5 separate regions of the Homo sapiens genome follow, and regions 1, 3, 4 and 5 are each linked to region 2. Evidence: promoter capture Hi-C in 16 types of primary human blood cells and fetal thymus (Javierre and others, 2016). All regions are on one chromosome and are shown on one strand. The core of a region is centred on a gene start or on the middle of the fragment in contact, and the rest is flanking DNA. Distances in the headings are between cores, read along the strand shown.

Evidence for each region. Contacts are between HindIII fragments. The CHiCAGO score rates a contact against its expected background, and 5 or more counts as called.
Region 1: the fragment with the promoter of PSMC4 here is called in contact with the fragment with the promoter of AKT2 in region 2 in 14 of 17 cell types (erythroblasts, fetal thymus, total B cells and 11 more); the score reaches 11.8 in erythroblasts.
Region 3: the fragment with the promoter of ACTMAP here is called in contact with the fragment with the promoter of AKT2 in region 2 in 3 of 17 cell types (total B cells, activated CD4 T cells and fetal thymus); the score reaches 8.0 in total B cells.
Region 4: a contact is called between the fragment with the promoter of SHKBP1 here and the fragment with the promoter of AKT2 in region 2, in 12 of 17 cell types (monocytes, neutrophils, erythroblasts and 9 more). The highest score is 11.2, in monocytes.
Region 5: a contact is called between the fragment with the promoter of NUMBL here and the fragment with the promoter of AKT2 in region 2, in 1 of 17 cell types (neutrophils). The highest score is 5.1, in neutrophils.

The regions. Positions count from the first base shown.
Region 1 is chr19:39,969,877-39,972,576 of GRCh38, forward strand. PSMC4 (proteasome 26S subunit, ATPase 4) reads left to right here and starts at 1,289. Exons shown (of 11, transcript NM_006503.4): 1 at 1,289-1,362; 2 at 2,270-2,368; 3 at 2,493-2,679. The coding sequence starts at 1,327. It overlaps LOC124904720 (a long non-coding RNA gene), which reads right to left and starts at 1,095. Exons shown (of 3, transcript XR_007067260.1): 1 at 1,004-1,095; 2 at 478-560. RefSeq lists enhancers at 609-658, 1,159-1,548, 1,573-2,252. The HindIII fragment of the contact is 1,611 bases long and covers 605-2,215 here.
Region 2 is chr19:40,284,065-40,286,764 of GRCh38, forward strand. AKT2 (AKT serine/threonine kinase 2) reads right to left here and starts at 1,281. Exons shown (of 14, transcript NM_001626.6): 1 at 1,117-1,281. RefSeq lists enhancers at 306-445, 1,602-2,433 and a silencer at 816-1,315. The HindIII fragment of the contact is 30,037 bases long and covers 1-2,700 here.
Region 3 is chr19:40,749,227-40,751,726 of GRCh38, forward strand. It overlaps ACTMAP (actin maturation protease), which reads right to left and starts at 1,251. Exons shown (of 6, transcript NM_198476.5): 1 at 255-1,251. The coding sequence starts at 577. SNRPA (small nuclear ribonucleoprotein polypeptide A) reads left to right here and starts at 1,977. Exons shown (of 6, transcript NM_004596.5): 1 at 1,977-2,255. The coding sequence starts at 2,183. RefSeq lists enhancers at 702-1,327, 1,019-1,258, 1,799-1,868, 1,956-2,500 and silencers at 1,459-1,598, 1,863-2,045. The HindIII fragment of the contact is 2,474 bases long and covers 1-1,645 here.
Region 4 is chr19:40,575,527-40,578,226 of GRCh38, forward strand. It overlaps SHKBP1 (SH3KBP1 binding protein 1), which reads left to right and starts at 1,347. Exons shown (of 18, transcript NM_138392.4): 1 at 1,347-1,459; 2 at 1,705-1,758; 3 at 1,870-1,915; 4 at 2,031-2,104; 5 at 2,628-2,686. The coding sequence starts at 1,374. It overlaps SPTBN4 (spectrin beta, non-erythrocytic 4), which reads left to right. Exons shown (of 36, transcript NM_020971.3): 36 at 1-938. The coding sequence ends at 43. RefSeq lists silencers at 736-825, 1,176-1,355, 1,376-1,445. The HindIII fragment of the contact is 21,373 bases long and covers 1-2,700 here.
Region 5 is chr19:40,689,208-40,691,907 of GRCh38, forward strand. NUMBL (NUMB like endocytic adaptor protein) reads right to left here and starts at 1,444. Exons shown (of 10, transcript NM_004756.5): 1 at 1,253-1,444. The coding sequence starts at 1,276. It overlaps COQ8B (coenzyme Q8B), which reads right to left. Exons shown (of 15, transcript NM_024876.4): 15 at 2,323-2,700. RefSeq lists enhancers at 1-674, 348-397, 1,613-2,550 and silencers at 1,237-1,576, 1,897-2,136. The HindIII fragment of the contact is 12,323 bases long and covers 1-2,700 here.

The sequences.
Region 1 (2,700 bases), core at 39-2,538, 310 kb before region 2:
CTCTTAAAAAAAAAAGAAAAAAACAGATGAATGATAACCTTTAGAAGGGATCGGGAGGCCGGATGTGGTGGCTCACGCCTATAATCCCAGCACTTTGGGAGGCCAAGGCAGGCAGATCACTTGAGGTCAGGAGTTTGTGACCGGCCTGGCCAACATGGTGAAACCCTGTCTCTACTAAAAATACAAATATTAGCCTGGGCAACAGAGTGAGACTCCGTCTCGGGGCGGGGAGTGGAGGGGGGAGAAGAAGGGATGGGGGAAAGGGGAGCACATGAGGCTTCTACTGTTTGGTTTTGCGATCTGGATTCAGGTTGTATGGGCATGTTCACTTTGTGTAATTTTGTCGAGCTGTAATGATTTGTGCTCTTCTCTTTATTTAACTTCAATAAAAGGTTTACTTAACAAAAATTGTAGCTGGTGTGAAGGGTAGCAGTGTTTCCCTGGGGCCAAGAGTACAGGCTTTGGGGACAGACAGACCTGGGTCCCAATCTATGCTTTGTCCCTTCGGCACATTGTTGACTGTGGCTGGTGGCTTCGTGGCTCTGAGCTTGTCTCCTTCTCTATAAATGAGGAAACATAATACTTGCGACGATGATGCCTGTAAAGCTTAAGCGCAGGACCTGGCATAGATCTGTAAGGCGGAAACCTGGGATACAGAACTAAGGTCTATGGATCTCCTGTGCTACCCAACTTCTGGGCACTCGCTGCCTCCTTTTCCCCAGCCCAGACGCGTGGGTTCTACTCGATTGGTTGCTCACTGCGGGCTCGGGGCTCCTCAATCCCGGGGTAAAGCCCAGTATGAAATGTCACCTTCAGGGGCAGCTCGGATCTTCCCACGCCCGCGCGGCGCACAATCTTTGGATCAGCGCCACGTGGAGACCTTACCCGCCCGTACGATCAATCCCTTCTGTGGAACCCAGCTCAAGGACCCTCCAGCCCAGACACTAGAAAGCGAAGAGCAGTTGGCCGCCAGACTGTCCGTGCCAGAGCTCTGCGAACTTACTCCGTTGAAAGAGCAACGGGGCTGCGCCACCTCCCGGAGAGAACCCCCAGCCCTCCACGGCAGGGCGAGATGGCGCCACCGCGTGATACTGCGCACGCCCACAGCTCCCGTCCCGCCCTCGCGCCTGCGGGTACGGACAGCGCATGAGCTTATGTTGAGGGCGGAGCCCAGACCAGCCCTTCGTCCTATCCTGCCCTTCCAGCACCTCTCAGCCGTAACTTAAACTACACTTCCCAGAAGCCTCCTCAGCCAGGGACTTCCGTTGTCGTCAGCGGAAGCGGTGACAGATCATCCCAGGCCACACAGAGGCCGGCTTGGTCACTATGGAGGAGATAGGCATCTTGGTGGAGAAGGCTCAGGTACAGTGGGGACTTGGGCTTTTTAGTCCGGGCCGGGCTCGCGGGGAGAGGGTGAAGCCAGACCTGAGTGGGGGGAGGAATGGCTTCCAGGACCCCGGCCCAGGTTGGGGTTATTTTAGAGGCCTCGGTGGAGAGCTTTGTGCCATTCGAAGGCCTGTCTGGGTGGCCGAGTGATGGTAGGAGGTAAGGCTCAGAAAGCGGGGCTGGGGGAGTGAGTGACGTTAGTGGGTCTTTGAGACGGATTGATTTCGAACCCTGGCCGGTAGTGCTTAGTGAGGTCGGTGGCCCGGCGTTGGGATTGGGTCAGGCGGTGAGTGATATATGGGATCCCGCCGTGCGGCCGAGTGATCCCCGGGTCTGGGCTGCGGGGCTGACTGATGTTCAGGGCTTTGCTGATGGGGGTAATGGGGCGGGTAGTTAAGTATTATCTGTGGCTTGCCTGAGTGATATTTAGGTCTAAGGTGAGTTAGGAGACTGTGACATAAGGGATCTTTGAGGGGAAACTGGGGAATGTTGGGACTCGTTGAAGGCGCAGTCACTTTAACAGCCTATCTAGGAGAGCCATGTGACATTAGGAACCTCTTGAAGGGGATTGGGTGGCATTTGGGTCTGATAAGGAGTTGATGTGACGTTTAGATCCTAGTTGGGGGTTGTGTGACACTGGGGACATGTTATGAGTGGTATATGATAACATAAGATCTGTTTGAGGGGCAAGTTGACATAAAGAGCTTGTTTAGGTGGCCAAAAGGTTTCCAGGATCTATTTAGAGGGTCTTAAGATATCAGGGGTCTGTTAGGGGCTAAGTGACATCAGGGTGAAGTGGGGAGGGGAACAAACATTAGTGAAGTTGGGAAGCTTTCATGAGAGGACTGTCTTCTTCCAATGTGAGTTATCCCCTTTCGTCTAGGATGAGATCCCAGCACTGTCCGTGTCCCGGCCCCAGACCGGCCTGTCCTTCCTGGGCCCTGAGCCTGAGGACCTGGAGGACCTGTACAGCCGCTACAAGGTACATTCGACCCCCAACCCAGACCTTGCACAGGACCTGACATCTCATACTCTTCCCCACTTTCCACCACTCTCTGGATCAGCAAGTCTGGAGCCATCCCCTTCTGTCCCCTCTCTGCTCGCAGAAGCTGCAGCAAGAGCTGGAGTTCCTGGAGGTGCAGGAGGAATACATCAAAGATGAGCAAAAGAACCTGAAAAAGGAATTTCTCCATGCCCAGGAGGAGGTGAAGCGAATCCAAAGCATCCCGCTGGTCATCGGACAATTTCTGGAGGCTGTGGATCAGAATACAGCCATCGTGGGCTCTACCACAGGTGTGCTAAGGACACCTCATT
Region 2 (2,700 bases), core at 31-2,530:
GGAGTGGATGAAGTTGAAAAGCAGCCCATTGGAGGCTCTAGTTACTCCAGCCCAGGCGTCTTGCTGAGCCCCAAGAGGTCTCCAAATGAGAGGAAGAGGTCCTCACAATCCCAAGATCAAGATGCCCCCAGAGAGCTTCCCTGGGGGGAAGAGGTGTTCCCCCAAACACTCCTTCCTCCCAAGTTTTAACAAGCGGGTGCAGGGGCACGGCTCCTCAAATCCAAGCCCAATCCCTCTTCCTCTTCAGAATGTTAAGGCTCAGACAACTTCAGTGACTTCTAACACAGCTTTCCTCCCTCCCCTATGGAAGGAAAGAACTGTTACTGCCTGGTAAATAATCTGAGAGGGTAATGGAATCCAGAGCAGCACCTCCATGGTCCAAAGCACCCCAGTAACCATGACGTTCCCTCCAGAGTCGTTAAGAAGTTCAATAAAGGCTGAGATCAGTGTAAACCCCCAACGCCACACACGTCAAATACAGGAAACAGAAACCCCTCCTCACCAATCGGCATCACAGTCCTCCCAAAATACGCCCCTAAAACCCACTAGGGCCTGTCCCGCCCCGTCCCAGTCCCTTAAAGATCACAAACATCACAGTCCTCTGATTTGGGTTCCCCTACGTTCTAAGCAGGGCTCCCCCAACGCCGTGGTGATATAACCCAGCCACAGTTGGGGAAGCATCCTCCCCAGAAGCCCCCACCCCTGTAAATACAGCACAGCAACGGCTTCCACAGCGCCAAAAAGGTACAGCCCTCTACACTTGATGCGGCGCGCCCCCTCGATAGCTTAGCCCGCGCACGCCAGGCTCGATCTGCCCGCCGCGCCCGAAAGGTCCAGCCCCCGGCCCGCGCACGCTGCGGCCTGCGCTCCCCGTCCCGCAAACTTGCAGCGCTCCCCCCACCGCCTCAGTGGTATGGCCCGCCGCCACCGCCCCGGCCCCCCGAGGCTGGTCCCACCGCCCCCGCTCGGCCACCCCCACTCAGCTCCTGAAGGAGGGGCTCGAGGGCCGCGGTCCCCCCGCCGGGCACGGGTGGTACAGCCCATCGCGGCACCGCGGGGGGCCCGGACGCGACCATCGTGGGGGGGGCGTTCGGGGACACGCGCTGGCGCACTCACCTGTCACCGGCAGCCGCCCAGCCTCTCCGGCGGGGCTCTACCCCCGCCCATCGCCACGCTGCGCTGGTTCCCTTTCCTTGTGTTTCCCGGCAGCGGCAACGGCGCCGGCAGCGGCAGCGGCGGCGGCGACGCCTCCTCCGAGGCAGGCCCAACGGCTAGCACGGCGCGGCCCCCCCCGCCCCCTCCCCCCAGCCCCCGCTTACCGCCCCCTCCCACCCTCTGGACGGAAATACCGCCCTCTCGCGCCACAAACAGGAAGTGACGTACAAAGAGCCAGAGACGAACTCTGAGAGAGCGAGAGCGCAAGAGCAGGGCAGAGAAGGAGGCGGGCTCACAGCAGGGCGCCTGCGCACATTAGACAACTTTGGGCCTGTGTGGGTTAGAGATGGGCCTCGCTAGGCCGTGGGGCGGAAAGGCGAGATGGGGCTACGCAGGCGCACTAGGACTCCGACGTCTGCTTTCCCTAGGGCCTAGCCGTAGTGATTATTTCCCGGCAGCCCCTAGTCCGTATTTACATACGCTTTGATCTTGTTTTACTCAGTTCTGGGTTCTGACGCTCTTAAAGGACCCCGGAGCGGGAGTTAGTTAGGAGGGGTTTCCTTTTCAGTGTGCTCGTCATGGTTGAGCTCAGGCTCTGAAGCCACACAACCCCAGACTTGAATTTCCTCCTTTCTGGTGACTGTGGGCAGAAGGCTTGACCGTTTTCTGTGCCTCAGTATCCACATCTGCTAAATGGAAACAATCATCGCTGTGTCGCTGGCTTTTGAACCATTTTAATGTAAACAAAACGGTTTTTACCAATTAGTTCATTACTGCAAGATATTAATGCCACCTGCTCTCATCGTACATATTCCAGTGAATCTGGGATATAACATTTTATAATGCAACTTGGGCCCATAAAGGCCTTAAAATCACCCTGCGGCCGGGCGCGGTGGCTCACTCCTGTAATCCTAGCACTTGGGGAGGCCAAGGCAGACGGATCATGAGGTCAGGAGTTCGAGACAGCCTGGCCAACATAGTGAAACCCCGTCTCTACTCAAAATACAAAAAAAAAAAAAAAAGCCGGGCATGTCGGTGTGTGCCTGTAATCCCAACTACTTGGGAGGCTTGAGGCAGGAGAATCGCGTGAACCCGGGAGGCAGAGGTTTCAGTGAGCCGAGATCATGCCATTGCACTCCGGCCCGGGCGACAGTGCAAGTCTCCGTCTCAAAAAAAAAAAAAAAAAAGAAAAGAAAGAAAAAAGAAAAAAAATGACCCTGCAAGAAAAGAGCTTTGCACAGATCCTAATCCGTATATTAGCTAGTATACTGGACAGCTGTGAGACATCTGGCTCCCAGCCCCTCCTCTCTCATAGGGGATTGTGCTGCCTCCTGAATTTGGGTTCCAGTATGCCATATAACTTGGCAATTGTATGCATTGGTAAGTGAGAAAAATGCCTGACTGAGAGTTGAATCCTGGGTCCACCTCAGTCTGTGAGAGTGTTTCAGGCAAATCCTGCTGAGGGTTCGGCTTTCGTTTTCTGAGACGTAAACCTAATGCTGGAACTAGCCCTTTCTTATTTGGTTTCTAGCTTGGAACTTGCTG
Region 3 (2,500 bases), core at 1-2,500, 470 kb after region 2:
GTGATCCACCCGCCTCGGCCTCCCAAAGTGCTGGGATTACATGCATGAGCCAAAGCACCCGGACTGGACTGGGCACTTGTGAGGACAGCTTTCTTCATTGCTGGAGGCACACCACCATGGAAGAGATCTAGGTGGGGGACCTAAGTAGTCAGCCTGTTTGATCTTGAGGACACGGGAACCCCCCCCCCACCCCAAGAGATCTGTGAAGTGTCTAGGGCAGAGCCTGGGTGGTGGGTGGGGCATGGAGACCCTACCGGTCCTTGTGTAGTTTCAGAAGCCTCTTCACATCTTCTCTGCCCTTGGGGACCGGGCCGGCCTTATCAAAGGCCTCCTTCAGGAGCTGGCTCTTCTCCAGGCCGAAGACATGACGGGGAGCAGGCCCTGTGGCAGCGGGTGGAGGAGGCAGTGGGAGCGGTGGGGGAACAGGGGTCTGCTGACTCCAGGGAGGGGATGGTAAAGCTGAAAAGTCCAGGGGACTTGGGGGTAGAGGAGGAGATGGAATGCTGCTGGCTTGGGGTACAGGGGTTTTTGGAGGAGAAATTGGTGGTTTTAGGGGAGGAGAGCATGGAGAAGTCATTTTGGGGTCTACAGGAGGTGTTGAGAGGTTCAGAAAGCGGGGAGGGAAGGATCCTCCAACGGAGAACGGTCTCAGGGATGGAGATTTTAAAGGTTTAAGAGCTGAGTTCCAGAATCTGGGGACTGAGCAGTGGGTGTGAAAGGACCAGGGCTAATATTTGAAACCACGGGAGCAGGAATTGCGAGGCTGACTCAAGTCATAAGGCACCTGACGGTTAACAGGGTGGGGTCCTTAAATCCGGAACCGGATCTGTGGTACCGGTTGGGTTACCTCGGGAGTCTTAGGTGGAGAGTTAGTAGGAGTTAACTCATTCTTTGGGGCTGGATGTGGAAACTCATGAGTGAGTTTGGGATATGAAGGCTCAGATCTAGAGTGAGGTGCCTTAAGGATGCGACTTAGGGACCCAGGGCTAAAGATTCGGAGAACTTAGGTTCAGTACCCCCTCACATCCCAGGCCCGAGTTCGGAACCTTTGAGCTGACCTTTGAGTCAGAGGTCAAGAGGTCAAAAAGGACACCTGGCAGGGAAAATGGCCTAGTTGTGGAGAAGGTCCTGGAACCAGAGCAACAAAAAACGTCTGTGGGTTGGAGAAGACTCAGAGATCAGAGGCCGGTGGGCGCCGCGATAACCACTGGAAAAAGGAAAGGAGTCAGGAAGTAAAGTGCACCTCCCACTCCCGGAAAATGGCGGCCCCCGCACACTGCCTTTCCCATATCACGTGGTATTACACGCAACAGTTCCCGCCCATTTTGCGATCACGTGACAGAAAACGCAGCTCTGGCGGGGGTAAGAGGCGGGACTCCAAAAAGGATTGCCTCCGGAAGACACCGCAGCGCGAGACGCGTACAGACTCGTGACCTTCACTGATTGGTCCGTAGACCCGGGCGCCACGGAAGGAGGTGGGCTTTCAGGGAGTGGGGCGGGGTTTTTCTACCTAGGCGGGAACCCAAATATCGTTTTGATTGGCAACAGCTGAGCCCAGAAACGAGACTTGCTCTGATTGGTCAAGCTACTGCGTTTCCGCGCGGCGATTGGCTGGCAGAAAGGCAGAGGCGGGGCCAGGAGAGAAAGCTTTGTGGTTTGGTCTCAGGGAAGTAGCAGGCGCCGGTTGAGAGAACTACGGCCCTGTCGGAAGGTAACCTCCGGTGCAAACGACCATCGGCGGCAGGCGAGCGGTACGCTTGGCGTCCGGGCCTTCCTGGGCCCGTCTGAGGAAACTTGCTGCTCGAGGCCAGGCTGCCTAGGACCTGTCCCTTTTTTCTATACTGGCTCCCACATCCGGGTTTTTTCTCCGGGACGGCCCTTCGGATGCTTGGGCCAATGGGAATCGCCATTTAGGGTGCTCCGCCCACCGGGTCGCGTAGAGCATCCTGGAAGTCGTAGTAAATCTCTCGAGAGTTCTCTCCGCACGCGGGCTGGAGAAGCGGGTCCTACGCACGCTTTGTTGTCGCGCTTTGCCTCCGTCCTTGCCCCTACTCCCGCCTTACCTGACTTCCTTTTCGGAGGAAGATCCTTGAGCAGCCGACGTTGGGACAAAGGATTTGGAGAAACCCAGGGCTAAAGTCACGTTTTTCCTCCTTTAAGACTTACCTCAACACTTCACTCCATGGCAGTTCCCGAGACCCGCCCTAACCACACTATTTATATCAACAACCTCAATGAGAAGATCAAGAAGGATGGTGAGTTCTCGGGATAGTCCGGAGTCCAGACTGTCCCGCACGGGCTGGCCCCTCTTCCGTCCCCTGCACCCGCCTCTCTTTCTAAGTGTTTGTCCAGCCAAACTTCGAGTTAACTCCTTGGCCTTTACACAAACTACTTCCTGTCTTCAACACTCCATTAGTTCATCTTACACTCTGCCCTTTAACGTGGTCACTGCTGCTCATCTTACAAGGTTTGAGGTCACAGGACCCTTCCTCCAGGAAGC
Region 4 (2,700 bases), core at 97-2,596, 290 kb after region 2:
GAGGGAAGGCGGAGATCGCAGGGCCAGCGGGCGCAGGAAGTGACTTCCCACCCCCAGGACCTGACACATCTCGTCTCCCCTCTTTTCCGCACTGTGGGCACAAAGACACTTTTTCTTCCGCAGGGGCGGGAGCCCCTAGTTCCAACACTGAGGACGCGTGACATGGTGGGCACCGGAAAGGAGGGGACTTCTCCTGCACCCCAAGAAGTGGTGGGGAGATTGCTGCCCCTATAGCCATATCTCGGCCCCTTCCCACTCACCACCCCCACCCCAGGTGCTGGGGGTCCCTTATTTTTATGCAATAACTGAGCTTGATGGGGGTGGGCAGGGGGCCAGTTGAGCCAAGCCCCCAGCCCCGATCTGCAGATCCTGCCCCAAGAAGCTGGGGTGGTGGGGGCAGTAATTCCTGCCCCCCTCTCTGCCCTAGGGATGGGCACGGGGGCGCTGGTGAGGTCCCCTGGACCATCCAGGGTGCTAGGGGGCAGGGAGGGGACACCCCCTCCCCGCCTTTACCTCACTTCCAATGCTGCCTTGATCTCTGTCTGGGAGGGGGGAGTGAAGGGGCCCTAGCCCCCTGCACTCCGCCGCCTCAGAGCCATGCGGTTAATTCCTGACTTAGTTTATTTTTGCAAAACGTCGATCTCCTCCTCCCCCGCCCCGCATCCGCGAAGGCTTTTAATGGGAGGGGCGTCAAAGCTCAAAACTGTTTTCCTCTCTCCTCCCCCCTCCAGTTGTAAATGCCACTTCATGAGGGGAGGGGCGAGGGGAAGCCCACCCCTGCATGCTTCTGGCTGGAGCACCTCCCTGGGGAGTCGGGGGATTGGGTTGTGGGCAGTCCCCATGGCCGCCTGGAGAAGCCGCTGGGGCCCGGGGGTGTGGGGCGGTGTGGCGGGCGCACACTGTATGTACCTATAATAAACCCTTTGGCTTTGACGGTCTATGGTCCTTTGTTTGGGTTTTCTGGGCTGCGCCCGGGAGGATTGAAAGGAGGGCTGTGGTGGCTGTAGGGGTGGGTGCGGGGTGGGGAGAGGGGCACGGGGGTACCGTGGCTGCGGAGAACATCCAGATGTACCCTTTTATGTGGACTTAATTTCGGGGTCTAAACACACGCCCCTTGACGAGAACCTAGAGGGATGGAGAATATTTCGTTATGCTTCGTAATAAACTTCCCCAAAGGAGACTCCGGGTCCGCCCCGTCAAGTTCAGGAAAGGCGGACCCCTTTAAGGAGGCGGAAAAGTTAACCGCGATGGGCAGGCGCTCTGTCCAATCGCTAGTGACTCCTGGAGTCTCTGGCCCAATGAGCAGCCTATGGAGGCGGGGTCCGGGTGCACACCCGGAAGTGGGTGCGGGCCAGCCGGCTCGCCCGGGGGCCATGGCAGCAGCGGCTACTGCAGCCGAGGGGGTCCCCAGTCGGGGGCCTCCCGGGGAAGTCATTCATCTGAATGTGGGAGGCAAGAGGTGAGTGTGGGAGACTCCTGAGGTCCCATCCTCGGGGGCGGGAAGCGGGGTGGGAGTATCCGCCTCTCCTGGGGGAATCCCTGTCCATCAAGGGTTGCTCCGCCCCCCCCCCCTTTGGAGGCGCGAGATTCTGGAAAAACGCCGGGGGAGGGGGAAGGGGAGGGAACCCTGGATCCTGCGGGAGGGGGACGCATTCCTCACCCGCTCCTCTTCATCTCTTGCGTCCGTTTACCTTCCCCGCCCAGATTCAGTACCTCTCGCCAGACTCTCACCTGGATCCCAGACTCCTTCTTCTCCAGGTGATCGGGAGAGCGAGTTTGGGGCGAGGGTAGGAGGGATGGAGAGGGCGTGGGAGACCTAATATCCACTCCCCCGGCCCGTGACGCCTGCTCGGTGTCCCTTCCCTGCAGTCTTCTGAGCGGACGCATCTCGACGCTGAAAGATGAGACCGGAGCAGTGAGTCGGACAAGAACTGAAATGGGATGGGGGGGAGGGGTTGGTAGGAAGAGGGGCAGGACCCCACTCAGTCCTGCCTTTTACCCCATCCATCCTCTGCCCCCCTTTCCCGCAGATCTTCATCGACAGGGACCCTACAGTCTTCGCCCCCATCCTCAACTTCCTGCGCACCAAAGAGTTGGATCCCAGGTTGGCATGGAAAAAGGGGAGGGAGTCCCTCACTGTCTTCAGTCCCTGAGGAGTTCTTTCACCTCCTCTGAATGTCCACGTGAGCTCCATTCTATTAGAATTCTCATTCAGAACCTTGATCACAGGCCGGGCGCGCCGGGATTGCTCACGCCTGTAATCCCAACACTTTGGGAGGCCGAGGTGGGAGGATCACTTGAGCCCAGGATTTGGAGACTAGCCTGGGCAACATAGCGAGACCCCTTCTCTAAAAAAGCAAACAGGCAAAACTTCATGAGAATCTTGATCATGTTAAAATTTTATGTCCTTCGATTTCTCCCTACACACACACACACACACACACACACACACACACACACACACACTCAACATTTCCTCCACCCATATCATCACTCCTTAGCATCTTTATTCCATCAAAACTTTCTACCCCTTGACATTCTCTGTGCAGTTTTGAAAATTACCCTCTCAGCATTCTCTGTTCACCCCCACACCTAGACCCTGACCTCTAGTCAATTCTACTACCCAGGGGTGTCCACGGTTCCAGCCTCCTCCATGAAGCCCAGTTCTATGGGCTCACTCCTCTGGGTAAGTGGGAGCCC
Region 5 (2,700 bases), core at 194-2,693, 410 kb after region 2:
TCACATACCCAGTTATAGTTACCGAGGCATACAAACACAGGGTCACAAAAGACACAATCACAGACAACCACAGTCACAACCATGCACACCTCCAAACACAGACAGACTAAAAAGTACAGGATTCTGCACAGTGAGCAGCTGTCACACACACATACACAGTCACACAGATACTAGGGTCACAGACACAATCATAGACACCACCACAAGCACACACACACGACACAGGATTCCTCAGTCACCAGCTGCAGCGTACGCGTGCACACACACACACACATACACAGCCACAGTCACACAAACACAGGGCACACTCCTAGCCACCTCCCCATCGCTTGCTTCCCCCCTTCCCCCCAGGTACCACACACAAAGCCGCCGTCACCGTCACCGCAGACACTGCAGACAGACAGGGCTGCACCCGGTCCCTGGGGAGCCGCCCCCAGCCCAGCCTGTATCCTGGAGCCTGAGGGCCAGGTCCAGGAGGGGGAAGCGGTGCATTGTCTGCGGGTGGGGCCACTCTTGGACAGCTGGGCAGCCCTGGGGACAAAGGGGGTGGCCTAGGGATCCTGTGCCCTGGGACCCATGACCAAGCCAGGGGGTGGAGGGATTGGGGGTTGCCTGAAATTGTCCTTATTTTATTCAGGCTGGGGTGGGGTGGAGTCCCAGGCACAGGGACCTTGTTTTGAGAAGTGGCTGTGCCTGGGACTCCGCCCAAGGATTGGGGGGATGCTGTGCCCAGGGTGCCTCTGAGACCTGGGGGCAGGCTGTGCTTGGAGTCCCCCTAGGCCTTGGCGTGGTGGGAACGCTGTACCCAGTGACCCCATCCTCGAGACCGTACCTAGGCAGTTGTTGTGCTGAGACCCCCTTAGGCAGGGAGAGGTAGGGATTGTGTCTGGAATCGCGTCCTGGAGGCCTTGGTTTGATACGGGGGCTGTGTCCCCGACCCCATCTCCATCCCCATCTAGTTCTAGGAGTTGTACCTAGAATCTCTGTACCCCTGTCCTTGGTTTTGTGGGGGGTCTGTGTCCAGGATCCCTATTTCCAGGGCCTTGGCAAGAGATGGCCCAGGGGTCTGTGCCCAAGACCCCGGTCTCCTGGGCTTTGGCTTGTTGGGCCTGTTCCTGGACCCCCACCCGGGACCACCCTCTCCAGCCTTGGCACCCTCTCTCCATCCGGGCGCCGCGGCCGCCTCCCACCCTCCGCCACATCAGCAGCGGCGCCGCCCCCGACCCGAGCCCCCCTCTCCCGCCCTTCTCACGCTGGCCGCCGCGCTGCGGGACATCCAGGGCCCGGGCGCCCCCGCCTCCCGCGGCCCTGGCTGGGCCTGGCTCCCCGACTGCTGCTGCTGCGGTGGTGGCGGCGGCAGCTCGGTCTGACGCCGGCCAGGGCCCGGGGCCGGGGGATGGTGCGGGATGCACGCGCGCGAGCCTCCTCGGCTCCCGGGAGGATTCCGTTCCGGGGGCGGGGGAGCGTCCCTCGGCCTCGGCTCCCCGCCCCGACCCCGCCCATTGGCCCGCCGCCTGCCGTATATGCAGAAAGGTCCCGCCCCGCCCCGCCCCTTGGCCTGAAGACCCCGCCCACACGCAGACACCATCCCGCCTTCCCCGGCGCGGCCACCGCCCCGCCACGCCCATTGGCCAGTCCCGAGCTGAGCATGCCTATGAACATCGCCGAGTCCTTTCCCCCGGTCCGTCCTGGCCTGGGCTCCCTTTCCCTCCGTGACACCTGACCTCAGATCCCCTCCAGCTCCGCGTCCGAAAGAGTTGCTTCTAGAGGCGCCTTGCCGCCCCACACCCCCAAATCTTCCCGCTAACCCCATGGTTCCCCAGCCCGGCGGGGGCGGGCAGGAGCGGTGACGAGGCACTTTTTGCAAGGAAGGGGAGGGGGTGTGAACAGACCAAGGCGTCCTGATGCGCGATCGGTTCGGCTTTGGGAACGGGGGCGCCGGGGTGGGACCAGGGCGCGGTTCTGGCCGCTACGGCGCCCCCGCCGCCCCCTACGCCAATCCTGTGGGTTTGGCAAAGCAGCTGGCAGGGACATTAGAGCCCATTAGTAAAGGCGAGGTTGCCAGGAGTGAGGGGAGGGAGCCCGCAGCCAAGAGGCACTGTGTGTGTGGGAGGCCTCAGCTGCCACAGCCCTTAGAGCAGGTGGTCAGCACGTGGGGGGGGGTGGGGAAGGCGAGAAGGAGGTTCCCGGCAACAGATGGCACAGGCAGGGCTGAGGCTTTCAGACAAGGGGGTGCAGGGGGGCTGGCCATCTGCACCTGGAGGCCGCTGGCGAGCTCCTCCCCCTCTCCCCCCAACCCTAGCGCAGAGAAAAGAGCTGGGGGAAGGGGAGGGCTGCTTTTATTCCGATTGAAGATTCAGCTCCCCCCCACCCCGCACCCCTACCTCTCCAACACACTGAGAGGCTGGAACCCGGGAGAAGGCAGCTGTTGGAGGAGCGAGGGAGGCAGAGGTGAGGACTGCCTCCAGGACCATCTCGCCTTCCACGGGAGGCTTGAGGCAGAGGTGAGGGCTCCCCCTGATGAGTCTGATCTGCATAACGACATGCAGCGGCCCAAGGCTCCCTCAAATGTTGGCAAAGATAAGTTAACCGCTTCCCTGGCTTAGTTTTCGGATACCCACTTTCGAGTGGGGAGGTGCAGGATCTAGGGCACGAAGTTGGGAGTTCCCCAGCCCCAGGGATCCTGAGCTCCTGGGCCAA